Linked DNA regions of Homo sapiens: region 2 is linked to region 1. Evidence: promoter capture Hi-C in 16 types of primary human blood cells and fetal thymus (Javierre and others, 2016). All regions are on one chromosome and are shown on one strand. The core of a region is centred on a gene start or on the middle of the fragment in contact, and the rest is flanking DNA. Distances in the headings are between cores, read along the strand shown.

Region 1 (3,648 bases), core at 321-2,820:
TTGGCTCACTGCAAACTCCACCTCCTCGGTTCAAGCAATTCTCTTGCCTCAGCCTCCTGAGTAGCTGGGACTACAGGCACTTGCCACCATGCCTAGCTAATTTTTGTATTTTTAGTAGAGACAGGGTTTCACTATGTCGGTCAAGCTGGTTTCAAACTCCTGACCTCAGGTGATCCGCCCACCTTGACCTCCCAAAGTGCTGGGATTTACAGAGGTGAGCCACTGCGCCTGGCCTGTTTGTTTGTTTTTGAGACCGAGTCTCACTCTGTTGCCCAGGCTGGAGTGTAGTGGCCCAATCTTGGCTCACTGCAACCTCTGCCTCCTGGGTTCAAGCGATTCTCCTGCCTCAGCCTCCCGAGTAGCTGGGATTACAGGTGTGTGCCACCATGCCTGGCTAATTTTTATATTTTTAGTAGAGACGGAATTTCACCATGTTGGCCAGGCTGGTCTTGAACTCCTGACCTCAAGTGATCCACCCACCTTGGTATCCCAAAATGCTGGGATGACAGGCATGAGCCACCGTGCCCAGCTGAGAATTTGTTTTATAAAGCAGGAGGCCCCATCCTCTGGGGGCCGTGGACCAGTACCAGTCCATGGCCTGTTAGGAATCTGGTTGTGGCTTGTTAGGAAGTGGGCTGCACAGCTGGAGGTTAACAGCAGGTGAGCGAGCATTACCACCTGAGCTCCAGCTCCTGTCAGACCAGCAGCAGCATTAGATTCCCATGGGAGCAGGAACCTTGTTATGAAGTATACAAGCGAGGGATCTAGGTTGCGTGCTCCCTATAAGAATCTAATGCCTGATGTTCTGAGGTGGAACAGTTTCACCCTGAAACCATCCCTCCCCATCCCCTCAGTCCGTGGAAAAATTGTCTTCCATGAAACTGATCCCTGAGGCCAAAAATGTTGGGGACTGCTGTTATACAGAGCTGTAGGAGAGAAGAATAATGCAGAGGGAAAAGGAGTGCCTGTCTGTTGAGACTTTCAGGGGGACCTAGGGACTGGTTTTGTTACAGTTGACTGGGAATTGTCTTGTTTATTTTATTTTATTTTTCATTTAAAAAATTTTTTTGAAATGGAGTCTTGCTCTGTTGCCCAGGCTGGAGAGCAGTGGTGCCATCTTGGCTCACTGCAACCTCTGCCTCCCAGATAAAGTGAAGCTCCTGCCTCAGCCTCCTGAATAGCTGGGATTACAGGCATGCACTACCACACCTGGCTAATTTTTGTATTTTTAGTAGAGATGTGTTTCATCATGTCAGCCAGGCTGGTCTTGAACTCCTGACCTCAAGTGATCCACCTGCCTCAGCCTCCCAAAATACTGAGATTACAGGCATGAGCCACCGTGCCTGGCCAAAGTGTCTTGTTTTATTTTTAAGTCTTTGATCACTCTCATTTACAGTAAGTGTTTGAAGAGTACATTCTAAATCATTTTTCTCTCTTCCTTTACAGGAAGTGCTCAAATGTTGAGCACACACACACAAAAAAAGAGGAAACAGTTGGATAGGAACTCAGAAATCATGTGACTGATGACTAAGTTAAATCTTTTCTGCTTACTGAAAAGGAAGAGTCTGATGATTAGTTACTGATCCTCTTTGCATTTGTAAAGCTTTGGAGATATTGAATCATGTTACCATTTCTGTTTTTTTCCACCCTGTTTTCTTCCATATTTACTGAAGCTCAGAAGCAGTATTGGGTCTGCAACTCATCCGATGCAAGTATTTCATACACCTACTGTGGTAAGTAAAACCGCAAAACAAATAATTGTAGCATCAACTATTTTGAGGGTAAGTTTTCACGAGAACCGTACACTGTTGTGGCTGGAACACACGAAACATCAGTGTGTTCCAGCTGCTGTGGCGGACGCTGCCAGCAGGAAAAGCAATAGCTGGCAGCTGCCCCATGAGAATGTTCTCGACCACTCACAGAGCTTGTGAGTCTCTAAACTGTGTTGTGCTTGACCTCCAAGTGCTTCTGTTCCCTGCGTCATCTTTCTCTACCCTGAGCCCAGTTTTTGGTTCTGCCCATTTTTAATAAAACCATCTGCTTCTGAGCTTTCACCTCAGCCTTGACACTTACTAGTTCTTCTTCTTGAGATGGTAGAGCAGTCCCAGCTGCTTCCTGGAGTTGATTTCTGCTCTAAGCTGTGACTCTTGAGTGCTCTTGGAATCATCCCCCTCACTGGATGAAAGCCTGGTTCTGTCACTAGCTGTGTGACCTTAAGCAAAGTACTCCAGCCTTTTTAGCACTGAAGTGAAAGTGATTTTATAGTCTACTTGATAAGGGTGTTGTGAGGTGAAGTTTTTTAGCATAGGGTCACATAGAGACAATAATACTCTTAATTTTTTTTTGGAGTCAGCCATACCCTAATACTATTCACTGGCTGTGTCACTGTCCCCTGCCCCAGCTGCTCATTAGCAAGTGTCCTGGGATCTGAAGGCACAGTGTCAGGCCTGACAGCTGTTTTGGTTCGGTACTTTCCACCGTGCTGCTTACCATGGGTTGGCTGCCCTTTTCCACCCACTAGCAATAGCTGGGAGGTTTAAAGTGGTGCTTCCCAAAATACCAGTTCTTTGAGATTCTTTTGGGAAAATAGGATCTATGACCTAATCATCTGGGAGAGATTTACAGATGTACTTTGGGTTCTGAGAAGTTCTGCAATAAAGGCACCTGTTTAACCACATTTTCAATTTCATTTGTTGTTTGTTTGTTTGTGTTTTAGTCTGGAGTGTATGTTAACTCTCTTGAGAAACATGCTCTGCCAAATGCTAATATAAAGTGACTTTCGGGAAATTGGGATAATTGCCACATGTGAGGAGGAGACTTAGGAGTGTGGCCAGTCACACACCATGGCCCTTCTCCTGGTGGGTTGCACTGAATTCCCTCCAAACGTATGTCTAAAATCTCTCCATGCTGCAAGATCCTTTTGCATTCCCCTCTTCCAGCAAGGCTCCTACTCTACTTGGCCCCCACTTCCCTCTCCTCCTTTGGCTCTTTTGTACCATGTGCTAATTATGCCACTGTGTGTGTGTGTGTGTGTGTGTGTGTGTGTGTGTGTGTGACAGAGTTTTGCTCTGTTGCCAGGCTGGAGTGCAGTGGCGCGATTTCGGCTCACTGCAACCTCTGCCTCCCAAGTTCAAACGATTCCCATGCCTCAGCCTCCTGAGTAGCTGGGACTACAGGTGTGCGCCACCACACCCGGCTAATTTTTTTTTTTTTTGTATTTTAGTAGAGACAGGGTTTCATCATGTTGACCAGGATGGTCTCAATGTCCTGATCTTGTGATCTGCCCACCCCGGCCTCCCAAAGTGCTGGGATTACAGGCGTGTGCCACCTTGCCCGGTTTATGCCACTCTTTATATGGTTTTTATGGATGTAACATTTTGTATTATTATTTAGCTTTCAATCTTTTCTTAACAATAACTCAATTTGTCTTTTTAAAACATTTCACATTTTATCTTATTTTATCATTTATTTTTGAGACAGGGTTTTGCTCTGTTGTGCAGGCTGGAGTGAGTGGCATGATCTCCACTCACTGCAACCTCCACCTCCCTGGCTCAAGCCATCCTCCCAGCTCAGCCTTCCAAGTAGCTGGGACTACAGGCACATGCCACCACACTTGTCTAATTATTAATTAAATAATTTTTTTTGAGT
Region 2 (3,648 bases), core at 580-3,079, 670 kb before region 1:
ATTCGGTTGTGGTCACCTTGCCAAAACTGAGCTATCTTGTATTAATTAGCCCATCAGATGAGGCGGTCAGGTATCCTGCATTGTAAGTTTGTAGAATTGTAGAACTGGATTTCATCAAACCCTGTTCTTCACGATATTCAGATTATAAAGTATGAGTATATATGTTGTTCTATCCTGTTTGTCCTCTGCATGCCTGTAAAACTGAAAACATCACTCCATGCAAATATGCAAAAGGACACATTATTTAAATAGCACCTATATCAAGGGATTCCATTTCTGAAGTTGGGCCATGGACAATAACTTTTTTTCTATATTCTGTGCCTTTAGGTTAAGTTCTAGTTTAAGATTACAAGGCATGATTATCATTTTCATTTTAACTTCGCCTTACAAAGAAAGTCAAATCATAACAATTTATAGCCTAAGCTAGATTTGCCTTTATTCTTCTTGCATTAATTTAAACAAACTGGTTTTTCTTTCTCCTTTACTGAACAAGAGACCATTTGTAAATTTTCCAGACACTTCAAAGTGAACCTCTCTCCATTTTAACTTCAGCTTGTGAGCTTTCATAGAATCCTTTATGGTAACTTCCCCAAAGTAATATGATACTTAGTTGATGTGACAAAAAGTATTCATCTGTTTCTGCTGTTGCTTTGAAAATATTATTTCTGCACTGAACCACATCAGGTATCTGGTTTGTGTTTTTTTTTTGTTTTTGTTTTTGTTTTTGTTTTTGTTTTTTTTTTTTTGAGACAGAGTCTCACTCTGTCACCCAGGCTGGAGTGCAGTGGTGTGATCTTGGCTCACTGCAACCTCCACCTCCCAGGTTCAAGCAATTCTCCTGCCTCAGCCTCCTGAGTAGCTGGGACTACAGGCACAGGCCCACCATGCCCAGCTAATTTTTGTATTTTTAGTAGAGGCGGGGTTTCACCATTTTGGCCAGGCTGGTCTCGAGCTCCTGACCTTAAGTGATCCAGCCACCTCGGCCTCCCAAAGTGCTAGGATTACAGGCATGAGCCACTATGCCCAGCCAGGTATCTGTCTTTTAAAATGATTTCCTTTTCTTTGTGTAGTCACCTGTAACCTTATGTATTAGACATCTAAACATGGTAATAGGACCAGGGAAGCTTTAGTTTGGTTGGAGATAGGGGCATATGCTTAGTATTTCTGCTTTCTCCCCTCTTTAACTCAGGATTACTGTGCCAGTAAATTTGGAGTTGTGGGTTTTCATGAATCCCTGAGCCATGAACTAAAGGCTGCTGAAAAGGATGGAATTAAAACAACCTTGGTTTGCCCTTATCTTGTAGACACTGGCATGTTCAGAGGCTGCCGAATCAGGTCAGTGAGAACCTATATTATTACTGATAAAAAGAATATGTTGGGAGAATATGTGGAACTGGACTTTCAAACATAACCTTGTATTTTAACTATCATTTGACAATCTGTGGCTTTTATTGGTCAAGATTTGTAAAGTTTGTAAAATTGGTGTATAAGATTTGCAAAGGAGAGACTGGTGCTACACACTGATACTAATTTGCAGAAATTAATCCAGAATCATTAGATAGGAAATGGCTTCTCTGTAAAGAGAAAACATAAGTATCCAGTCTTTTCCTTAGAAGCTCATCTTTTGGAGTTATTTTGTTTCTTTAAAATTGGTATTGGTAAATAAGGATTCTAGAAGAAAATTCCTTCATGTGACTTGGGTCTGGATATGAAGCAATGTTACTGTCACAGAGAGTAACGTGCCTTTCTTCTGAAAAGACCATTGAATATTACACTCCAGATTTGGAAACTTCCTTTTTGCAGCAAGCGTATGTAACTAGATTCACTCTGGCAGAATGAGAAGAACCATTTAGATATACTGAAAAATGAAATAAAATACCCACACACATAGAAAGGAGGTATATGGGAATATAAATGTCAAGTTACATCTGACTTGAGCTCAGCAGAATAAACAAAACTGTGAATCATTAAGAGGATGCTTGTGAAGACATGCTTACTTTTATCTTTGCTTGGGTGAGTTTGAAAGGCAAAGGAAGATAACCAAACCAGTTCCCTGTTGGTTGGGGGCCATTCTTAACGTGTACTGAACTGAACAAGCAGCAAAATAGGTGGAAGGTGATTTGAATCACTCCAAAGTCAGGCTTGGAGTCCCAAGTCTGACCTGGAAAATGGACTCTAGCTCTGCCTCTTATCCCACACATGTGTGTGTCTGTGTGAACATGTGTGTGTGTTGGTGGTTTGTTTTGTTTTGTTTTCCTCTTATGTACTTGGGAAGCAGTTGCTGAGGGTCTTGCGGAGCTCTGTTTCCTCCAGTGTAGCATAGCAGCAGGTGCAGGGGTCCAAAGCTATGGTGGCAAAATGAAGAATGAAAGGAATAAATTGCACACTATCATTTCAACATGTAACCCAGTGAATCAAACTGAAGGTAGGATGTCTATATACCCTTCATTTCAGGGGCCCCTAGAGAATATACCTTAGCTTTCCCTCTTCCGGCATCCTGGAAAGTGGATACCTGTGGCCTTCCTTTCACTTTGAAAGCTTACACCCTCATTTTGACTACAACTAATACTAAAAGCTTGGCATCTTGCTTGAGATTAGTGTTTGCTATGCCAAACACCTTCTCCTCTTTCTATTGAAAGCAAAACATAGGAAAATAATTTGAAATACTTTTAAGGCATCTTAAAAACATGACTTTTTCATCTTATGGAAAAGCAGACCAATTTTGCTTTTTTTTCCCAACTTGTTCTCCAGACTGTGCCAATAAAATGTGTTCATAGCAGGAAAATTTGGAAAATACAGAAAAGCACTATGAAGAAAACAAAATGTACCCAAAATCCCATCACTCAGATAACATCACTGTTAATGTTTTGATATGTATTTCCAGTCTTTTCTATTGTGTTAATTTTTCATTTTGTTTTTGAATAAATAACTTTCAGGAAAGAAATTGAGCCTTTTCTGCCACCTCTGAAGCCTGATTACTGTGTGAAGCAGGCCATGAAGGCCATCCTCACTGACCAGCCCATGATCTGCACTCCCCGCCTCATGTACATCGTGACCTTCATGAAGAGGTAACTGGGAGGGGTTCCCTCACTGACTGGGTCTCTCCATGCCTGCCCGATGTCTTAATTGAAACTTCAAGTTTGCTAACAGCTGTGACTTCCCTTTTTCAGCATCCTACCATTTGAAGCAGTTGTGTGCATGTATCGGTTCCTAGGAGCGGACAAGTGTATGTACCCCTTTATTGCTCAAAGAAAGCAAGCCACAAACAATAATGAAGCAAAAAATGGAATCTAAGAATCTTTTTGTATGGAATATTACTTCTATCAGAAGATGATCAAGATGTTTCAGTCCAGTGCACATCAGCATTGCTGACATTTTATGGATTCTAAACTTGTGTTGTTTCTTTTTTAAATCAACTTTTTAAAAAAATAAAGTGTAAATTAACCGACTAGAGTACTTGGAAAATGTGATCAGTACAAGTGAACTTAGGTTGTTGCCAACAGGGTCCTTTTAGGCAGAACCCAGAAACCAGTCAAATCTGTAGAGAAGCAGTGTGACATCTTCAGGTTACCATTATTTTTTAATGAGCAGGAAGTCTAGAAATGATAACTAGACTGTATGTTTCATGTGTGTGATTTTTCAGAATTC

The links. The method cuts DNA at HindIII sites, captures the fragments that hold promoters and counts their contacts. A CHiCAGO score of 5 or more calls a contact.
Region 2: a fragment that was not itself captured here is called in contact with the fragment with the promoter of LY96 in region 1 in 1 of 17 cell types (M0 macrophages); the score reaches 7.5 in M0 macrophages.

The regions. Positions count from the first base shown.
Region 1 is chr8:73,989,822-73,993,469 of GRCh38, forward strand. LY96 (lymphocyte antigen 96) reads left to right here and starts at 1,571. Exons shown (of 5, transcript NM_015364.5): 1 at 1,571-1,733. The coding sequence starts at 1,622. RefSeq lists enhancers at 1,813-1,912, 2,283-2,352. The HindIII fragment of the contact is 3,298 bases long and covers 1-1,601 here.
Region 2 is chr8:73,319,743-73,323,390 of GRCh38, forward strand. RDH10 (retinol dehydrogenase 10) reads left to right here. Exons shown (of 6, transcript NM_172037.5): 4 at 1,190-1,335; 5 at 2,937-3,068; 6 at 3,171-3,648. The coding sequence ends at 3,294. It overlaps RDH10-AS1 (RDH10 antisense RNA 1), which reads right to left. Exons shown (of 6, transcript NR_125388.1): 4 at 1,998-2,345. Among named protein-coding and RNA genes, the nearest start is that of RDH10, 27 kb to the left of the region's middle. The HindIII fragment of the contact is 1,414 bases long and covers 1,123-2,536 here.